Linked DNA regions of Homo sapiens: region 2 is linked to region 1. The links are contacts of gene promoters, found by promoter capture Hi-C in blood cells and fetal thymus (Javierre and others, 2016). All regions are on one chromosome and are shown on one strand. The core of a region is centred on a gene start or on the middle of the fragment in contact, and the rest is flanking DNA. Distances in the headings are between cores, read along the strand shown. Region 1 holds the start of SUN3 (Sad1 and UNC84 domain containing 3). Region 2 overlaps TNS3 (tensin 3).

Evidence for each region. Contacts are between HindIII fragments. The CHiCAGO score rates a contact against its expected background, and 5 or more counts as called.
Region 2: a contact is called between a fragment that was not itself captured here and the fragment with the promoter of SUN3 in region 1, in 1 of 17 cell types (naive B cells). The highest score is 5.7, in naive B cells.

The regions. Positions count from the first base shown.
Region 1 is chr7:48,027,436-48,031,750 of GRCh38, forward strand. It overlaps SUN3 (Sad1 and UNC84 domain containing 3), which reads right to left and starts at 1,672. Exons shown (of 10, transcript NM_001030019.2): 1 at 1,382-1,672. The coding sequence starts at 1,503. RefSeq lists an enhancer at 863-2,062. The HindIII fragment of the contact is 1,156 bases long and covers 1,666-2,821 here.
Region 2 is chr7:47,290,799-47,295,100 of GRCh38, forward strand. It overlaps TNS3 (tensin 3), which reads right to left. Exons shown (of 31, transcript NM_022748.12): 25 at 2,935-3,030; 26 at 2,030-2,107; 27 at 1,157-1,234. Among named protein-coding and RNA genes, the nearest start is that of SNORD151, 170 kb to the right of the region's middle. RefSeq lists enhancers at 682-1,041, 2,265-3,464. The HindIII fragment of the contact is 2,934 bases long and covers 1,017-3,950 here.

The DNA of each region.
Region 1 (4,315 bases), core at 422-2,921:
ACAAAGTGGTTGTAATGACAACCTTTTCACATCTAACCTTTTAAAAAGCCCTAAAGGGTGGATGGGGAGGGAAGCTAAAATGATCACATTAATCTAACGTGAAGGCTATAAACTTCCGGATAAAGTATTACAAGTTGGCAAACTAAAAATTTCTACTTAAAACATAAGAAAAATCACATTAAGATGGACCATTCATTAACTGTATTCACTAGAGTGGGCCGCCTAATTCTCCCAGTACAGAATCTTTAAGTAGCTTATCTACCCTACATAAAGCAGTCATACCTATTAGCCATCCAAGAGTGTGACAGTGTGGAAACCAACTAAGAAGAGAATTTTCTTAACTCTCTTCCCCTCCAGGGAAGTGTATTCTGGAACCTCTTCCTTTTAACTATTATTGGAGATGTGGAGAGTGGTAGGGGGTCCACTGTATTAAAAAAGTTGTTCATAGGTCAGTTATGGTCTACAAGAGCTCTTTTGGTGGGCTGCATTAAGTGAAAATTATCACATTACCATATTTACCAAAGATTAACTCCAGTGTTTTTCGTTTTTTGTTTTTCACTAGAAAACTGGCTGCCAGGCTCTGCATTGCAAAATTCCTTCGGTGCCTTCACCCAGCCAGTGGGATTCTGCCATTTGGGGCAAGCATATTTTGTTATTACTGTGATTTTGAAATGCTGCTCTACTTGTACTAATAACTTTGTAGCATTCCTTTTATTTTTATTGACAGTTTTGTTCTGTGCAAGTGCTTCATTGTTACCAATAGGAAGGTTATTTCATTACTTGTAGTTTTTGTTTTCCCAGCAGGCAGCACATGGGCAGGGCGTTTGTAAATAGGTTTAGGGTATTTGGATTCCCTGCTATAATAATCCCCACATATGTTCTCACTAGAGGAAACAGGGTGATTCACTCAAAATGTGCATCCCCTACCAGAGTCTTTAGTCAATTATCACCCAAGAATGTAATAAATGCCACTCTGTGCCCAGAGTCCTGAGCCCGGTGCTAAGCTCTGCATACCACCAAGACTATACAAGCTAGCCCAATGACAAAAAAAAAAAAAAAAAAAAAAAAAAAAAGTGAATTATCTGGAAGCTTTTAAGTTCCTGCTGCTGTGGCTCATTCTTTTAAAGAGGGTGGCTCTCCTTTCTTAATCCTTCTCCCAAGTCTGCTGTTATTAATCCAGATACCGTTGACATAGAAGTATTGTGATCAAGTGTAAGACTGTGATGAAGAGAAACCTTCAAAGGAAACTATTGAAAATGATTTTCTCTATAAAGGGAGAAAATACTGTCGGGTAACAGGTAACAGATGAACAGACACAAGTGACAGATGTAACACATAAAACCTACAATTTCAGGCACACCGTTCTGCCATGTTTACCTACCCATTCGCATCAGGATTTTCGTCCTCTGATAACAAAGCATTGCCACTGGCGCTACCGCTGGCGTCTTCAGAGCAACGTCTAAAAAACATGGCAGCCCTTCTTGCCTTTGTTTTTCCACTCATGATCCCCTACCAAAGAACAAACAGCTGGTAGGATGAAGAGCAACATTTGTCCTCATTCCTATTTTATGAAAAACATGAAGCTATACATACAGTTTCTAAATTTGTTTTGTATAATGTCTTCTTCCTCCACGGGTGTTTCTTCTTGAAGACGGAATTTTGAAAAGCTTCTGATTCTTCTGTTGCATCATCCTCCGTGACACCTCATAATGCAGATGGCCACCACGCCCAGCCAGGGCATGGACAGGCAACCACCTCTCTGCTTCAAGGGCCTAATTGTACCATATGTCACACCCACTGAATAATACAAAGGCCCCCCCATGTACCTACCGCTTTTCGATAGCAAATCTGGATGTTTTGCTGTGTTTGCTTCAGTGCTTTTCTAATAAAGAAAATATCAGAAATATAATAGTAGACCCCCAAGTATCCCTGAATCTCAGCACTCTTATTTTCCACAGATAACTACAACCTGAAAATTGATATACTCTATTCTCATTATTTTTGATACTTTACTATGTAAATCTGTATCTATAAATAATACCATTTTCATGCTTAAAACATAAACTAAATGTTATGCCACTCTAGGTTTTCTTACAATATTATTTATCTTGAGACATTAACTCCACTCATTTTAATTGCTCTATGGTATTTCATTATACATACATCACAATTCATTTACCCATCCTTCTGTAAATGTATGCTTAGGTTGTTTTCAGTTTTTTTGGCAAGGAATAATGCTCATTGCACGTTGTTATATGCACATCACAAGGTTTTTCTAAACATACACCTAGAAACAGAATAGTTAGGTGGAAGGATGAGCTGGTTTATTTGGGGCATAAATTCTACGATGACAGTCATTTCACTCTCAGCACTTTGGAGATACTACTCCATGGCCTTGTGGATTGATTGTTGTTGATGAGAATTCTGTCTTATCTTCATTTCTCTGTTTTTTTTGGCAATTTCTCGCGTAGTTTTTAAGATTTTCTGTTTATCCATATTTTCCAGTTGTATTTTAGTGTATCCAGGTTTGATACTAGTTTTTGTTTTTCCTCACTTATAACTCAGAGAGTCTTTTCAATTTGGGTACTTGTGTGTTTTTTCAGTTCTGGACTATTTTTCAGCCATCAGGGCTTCAAATATTGCTTCTCTGCCACTGCCTCAATTTTCTTAGAATGGTCCACCTATTGACACTTGTGTCTCCCTTTTGCTTTCCGTTCAACTGCTCCTTCATATTTGTTTTTGCTTTTTTCTCTTTTTACTTATGCTGATTTCTGGGTGAATTTGTAAGTGTTATTTTTCAATTTACTACTTATTTTCTGAAAGCTTAGATTTATACCAAGAAACCCCCAAGTTTCTACTTTTTTACCTACTAGTCCAAAATTCGAAAGTTACAAAATGGTACACAGCAAATATGGCCTTTCCACCCGGCATCTGCCTTCTAGCTATTGGTTCCCCTCTCTTTTAGCATCTATGCTACCATTTATAGTATTTCCTTTCAAAGATGTGATACACATGCACAGTATGTGACATTGTATTATATATGTAATATTTTATAGGTATATTTATCTCTCCACATTCCTAATGGTAGCTTACTATAAACTGTGCTCTGCATCTTGCTTCTTTCCCTTAAACATGTATCTTGGAAGTTGTTTTGATTGTTTGAGATAATCTTCCTCATTTATTTATGACTGAATAGTGTTTCATTGGGTGAATGGGCCATAGGCTATTTAGCCTGTCTCATATTGATGGGCAGTTTGGTATTTAAAATAATGTGCAATAGTAATCTTGTATTTAAGTTATTATCCATATGTGTGAATATATCTTTAAGGATATATACCCAGAGGAGGAACTTCTGGGTCAAAGTCTATGTGTATTTTTCAAGAATAAATCCGCACATATACAGCCAACTAATCATTGATAAGTTTGTCAGGTGTACACAATAAGGAAAGGACACTGTAGTCTCTTCAATGAATGGTGCTGGGAAAAGTAGATATTCACATGCAAAAGAATTAAATTGGACAGTTATCTTACACCATACCCAAATAATACCTTGAAATAGATAAAAGACTTAAACATAAGACCTCTAACCATAAAATTCCTAGAAGAAAACAAGGAAAAAATCTCCCTGACATTGGTCTTGACAATGACTTTTTAAATATGACATCAAAAGCACATGCAAAAATAAATAAGTGGAACCACATCAAACCAAAAACCAAAAAGCTTTTGCACAGCAAAGGAACTTAATAACAAGAAAACAAATAACTGAATTTAAAAGTTGGCAAAGGTCCTAAATAGACATTTTTTTCCAGAGAAGACATACACATTGCCAACAGGCATGTGAAAAGCTACTCAACATCATTAATCATCAGGGAAATGTAAATCAAAACAACAATGAGATATCACCTCACAGCTGTTAGGATGGCTATTATAAAAAAGATAAACAGCTAGTGTTGCACAAAGTGGTACACGCCTGTAATCCCAGCTACTCGGGATGCTGAGGCAGGAGGACTGCTTGAGCCCAGGAGTTTGAGACCAGCCTGGGCAACATAGCCAGACCCCATATTTTAAAGAAATTGTTAATCTTAAAACAAACAAACAAAAATATATAAAGATAAGTGTAGGCAAGAATGCAGAGAAAATGTAACCCTTGTATACTGTTGGTGGGATGTAAATTGGTATACTCATTATGAAAAACAGTATGGAAGTGCCTTAAAAAATTAAAAATAGAACTACCTTATGATTCAGCAATCCCACTTCTGGGTATATATATCCAAAGGAAATAAAATCAGTGTGTTGAAGAGATATTTGCACTTCC
Region 2 (4,302 bases), core at 1,234-3,733, 740 kb before region 1:
TCTTACCATACAATCCAGGAATGCGCTCCTTGGTATCTACGCACAGGAGTTGAAAACTTATATCCACTCAAAAACCTGCACATGGGTGTTTAGAGCAGCATTATTCATTACTGCCAAAACCTGAAAGCACCCACAATGTCCTTTAGTAGGTGAATGGGTTACTAAACTGATACACCCAGACAAGGAAATATTTGCTGCTAAAAAAAAATGAGCTATCAAGCCATAAAAACACATGGAGGAAACTTAAATGCATATGACTAAGTGAAAGGAGCCAACCTCAAAAGGCTATGAACTGTATGGTTTCAACTATATGACAATACTGGAAAAGTTGAAAATATGGAGACAATAAAAATATGAGTGGTTGCTTGGGGTTGGTGGGGGAGGGAGAACGAACAGAAAAGGCACAGAGGATTTTTAGGGCAATAAAACTATTCACTATGATACTGTAACGGTGATTACCTGTCATTATGCATTTGTCCAAACCTGTAGAATGCATGACATCAAGGTGAACCTAAATATCAAGTCCCTAAACTAGGGACTCAGGTGACGAGGCTGTGTTAATGCAGGTTCATCAACCATAACATGTGCATCACTTTGCTGGGGGATGTTGACAGCGGGGAGGCTATGCGTGTATATGGTGTATCTCTGTACCTTCTTCTCCATTTTGCTGTGAATCTGTCACTGCTCTAAAAAAGAAACTCTATGAATAATTTTTTTAAGTGACCTGCTCTGTCTGGCGAGCTGGTTCTTGGGTGTTGTATGTCTCACTGGGGTTGCTGGCAGTGTGGGTCAAATCATTGACTCATGTCAAGTGACTTGTTGAGTCATGTCTCTGGAACATTTTTACATTTACAGTTGCCGAGACAGATCACCCACATCCTGTCTTACTATATTTTCCCCCAAACTAAATCCAGGGCTTGACATTTATTCCACTGAATTTAGTCTTGCTTGAGTTAGACCGGCCCATGAAGGCCTTGCTGATGTCCCAACAACTGCACCCCACCCAGCTCTGTGCAAGCTTCTATAAAAGGAAACCTCCTTCAAGGCTCACAGAAAAGAAAGGAAACCTGAATACTGAAGTGCAAAAGGAAGTTGTGTCAGTGAGTCCTTTTTCTCCCCAGTCACCAGATGTAGAAATGGAGCTGCATTTACTGACCTGCCCCCTGCTTCAACAGCTCAGCTGCTGAATTGGCTGCCGTCTGGGGAGAACTTTCTGCTATTTCCTCCAATGGATCTGTAGGAAGGGGCAAGAAAATACAGAAATGAGTCCTGCTCCTGACCAAGAATCCTCATGACAAAGTTAGACAATTTGATGACAGAATTCCCAGATGGTGACATGCAATGGTTTTGCAGAGTCAAGAGTTTCTCTTTGGGACAATAATTTGGCCCATAGAAACCATGATCACATTCTGAATAAAAGTAGAGATGACAAGGCCTAACAAAATATTTTTCTAATCACCGAATTAGTCATATGAACAATGACACTTTGAAAAGTAAATCACATTTACCTATATATTAAGTTAGACCATTTTTATGTGAAGTTGTGACTGCTTAGGAAAGTGGGACATACGGTCACATCGCCCTGACATGCTGTGGGTGTTATTTAATTTCATTATGGATATTGTTTAACAAACATAAAAGTAAAAAGAACAGTGCATCCATCATCTAAGTTCAACAACATCAACATTTTGCCCATTCCGTAGAAACGTAAAAATTAAATGTCAATGACCCTGAAGCCTTCTTTGTCTGAGGGTTTTATATTTTTAAACTACAGAATCTTTGCTCTATAGAAATCTTTCATCAAAATCCATGATGTAAAGCTATCTGGGAGCTGTCAGTGAAGTAGAATCTCCTCTTCTCTCCTTAATTTGGATGAACTCATTGGCCTTTTCTTGGGTTCAACCAAGAGAATACGAAAAAACTTCCAGTCTTATTATTTTTCTCAGTGGATCTTCATGGATCTCTAAAACCGGTGGCCTTGACTGCAGACAATCTACACAGAGCCTGACTAGCACTGAGGACCCCTTACCTCTCTCTGGGATAAGCAGCTTGCACGGCAAGGCCAAGGGCGTGATGGAATGCTGGCACACCAAGGCCGTCAGGCTCCCTGCAAAGTGGACAGACAGCAAACAAGAGTCAACAACTGCTGTAGATGTTGTGTGCTCAGCCAATTTATCAGCTGGAATGAAACGGATGCAAAGGCTGAGCCCTTATCTTTTTAGCAACTGGTATGTTAGATTAGTGTGCAGCTTTGTGTAAAACTTCAAAGAAGTATAAAGTTCCACAAGATAGTTGAGAGGTAAGTAAATGGAACTGTTTATCATTCTTATCATAGACACATCATTACCAAATTATATAAAGACTAAAGCATACAGTTTGTTGGATCTTGAATCAGGAGGGTTGACATCAAGCCAACTCCAACTTCAACCATATATATTACCCCTGCACAATGCTTCTTAACAAAGCTCTAATAACAATGATGCCTAAGGCTGCACTGTGCTTTGTGTGGATTGCTCAAGTCATCTTTCCAACAAGCTCGTGAGGTAGGGAAGGCTCCCAATTTGCAGGGAAGGGAGGGTGCTCTGTTGGGAGCTCTATGTTGTTCCTTGTGCTGTGGGATAGGGTCATGCTGGAGCTCCAACCTTCTCAGGACTTACCTGCCTGCCAACTAGGATAGAATCTTATTGACGTCTGTAATTCCTACGTCTGATATGGTGCTTTTCATTTGTTTGGTTTTGACAGAGCTTTTAAGAACAACTTCAAATCTAGTTTATCTTAAAGATAATAATGCAGATCAGCAGGATTTCAGAACTGGGGACTGAAATATGAGTAAACCACCATAAGAGTGATAGTCCCAAATCTCAGGTTGGTGAGCAGAGGGAATCCAGGCCTCATGAGTTCAGAACATTGACAGCAACCTCTCAAGCAACTCACCGAAATATGGTTCATTCGAGCACCCTTTCAACCGCACTCCCTTCGGGGTACACTCGATCAAAAAGTGCCGGACGAGTTCATTGGCCAAATCTCCAGCTGTGGCAAGAAATTTAAAGAAAGAAGAATTTTTTGAAAATGGGAGCATGGGAGAATTCAATAGAGAGAACATAAAAGCCAGGAGCTACAGTTGAAAAGGCTCTTCTCTGAATACGAGTCCAGTCACTGCAAAAGAGGCTGCCAAGAACCATCTTCGTCCTAGGAATGGTAGCCGGGCTGCAGGACAGCTGGATGAGCACAGGCTAGGCCAGATACAGGGCGGGAACCCTTGCAATGACAGTGTGGGGGCTGGAGAGGTCCCTTGGGAGAGGCCCTCAAACATTGTGCAAGAATCCCCAACGAAGGGAATGAGCTTGCAGCTAAGAAAGAGGATCATGAATCTCCAGCTGAATCCTCTCCCAAAGAGGAGAGGTGAGAAAGGCTCAGACACAAAATGATACCTATAATGAATCACTGAAAAGAGCTGGAAGGAGGTCAGTCTTCTGGGTGGGATTTAACCAGGAGCCTGGATCTTTAAAACCTTCCAGAAAGCAAGCACTCAGCTGCACGGGAGCAGCACTCTACCACATTGCTATTAACAGTAAACAGTGCATCTGCTTTAGGCCAGCCCATGAGTCCAAAGAGAAAACACATCATAAAAAGCCACTGAATGGCAAAACTATCTGAGAGTGGAAAAGTACAAACAGCACAACCAAAAGAACAAGAAGTCACTGCCCTATGCTAATGAGTCCAACAGACCTTCACAGTGTGCTGTATTTCTGGGATCCAGTGCTTCCTTCATCACCCTCCATTGGGGCATGTCTGCCTAAACTTCTAATATTTCTGGTGTTGGAAACCTCCTGGCAGCAAGATCCACTGGAGTTGGGCTTGGTCCCCAGTGCCTTGCCCACAGTAGGCTTCCAAAAGATGTTTATAAACATGACAAATATCACTGTGTCAGCATTTCACAAGGGCAGTAAAGCTTGCAGAAAAGGAAATGATCAGATTCCATAAAAGGCTGTGTTGAATTAAAGTGGGATAAGAACATATTGACATTCAGTTGTGGGAAGAAAATGACGCCTGGCTTCCAAACTGAAGGGGACACCAAGCGTGGGTCTGGATTCCACTTGTGAGAAATGGCTCAGTGGGAAGTCCTTCTGGCCAGGGCTCTCTGGAGAACAGCATCCAGAACGTCCCTAGCTGTCCCATCTCCAGTTTACTGGAGGTGGTATGGTGAATGGTTGTGGCTCTTTATGACCTGGTAAACTCTTTGCTCAAATCTATCCTTGGATTGTGAAATCTGAATGTCAAATCCAGGGACAAGATGAAGAC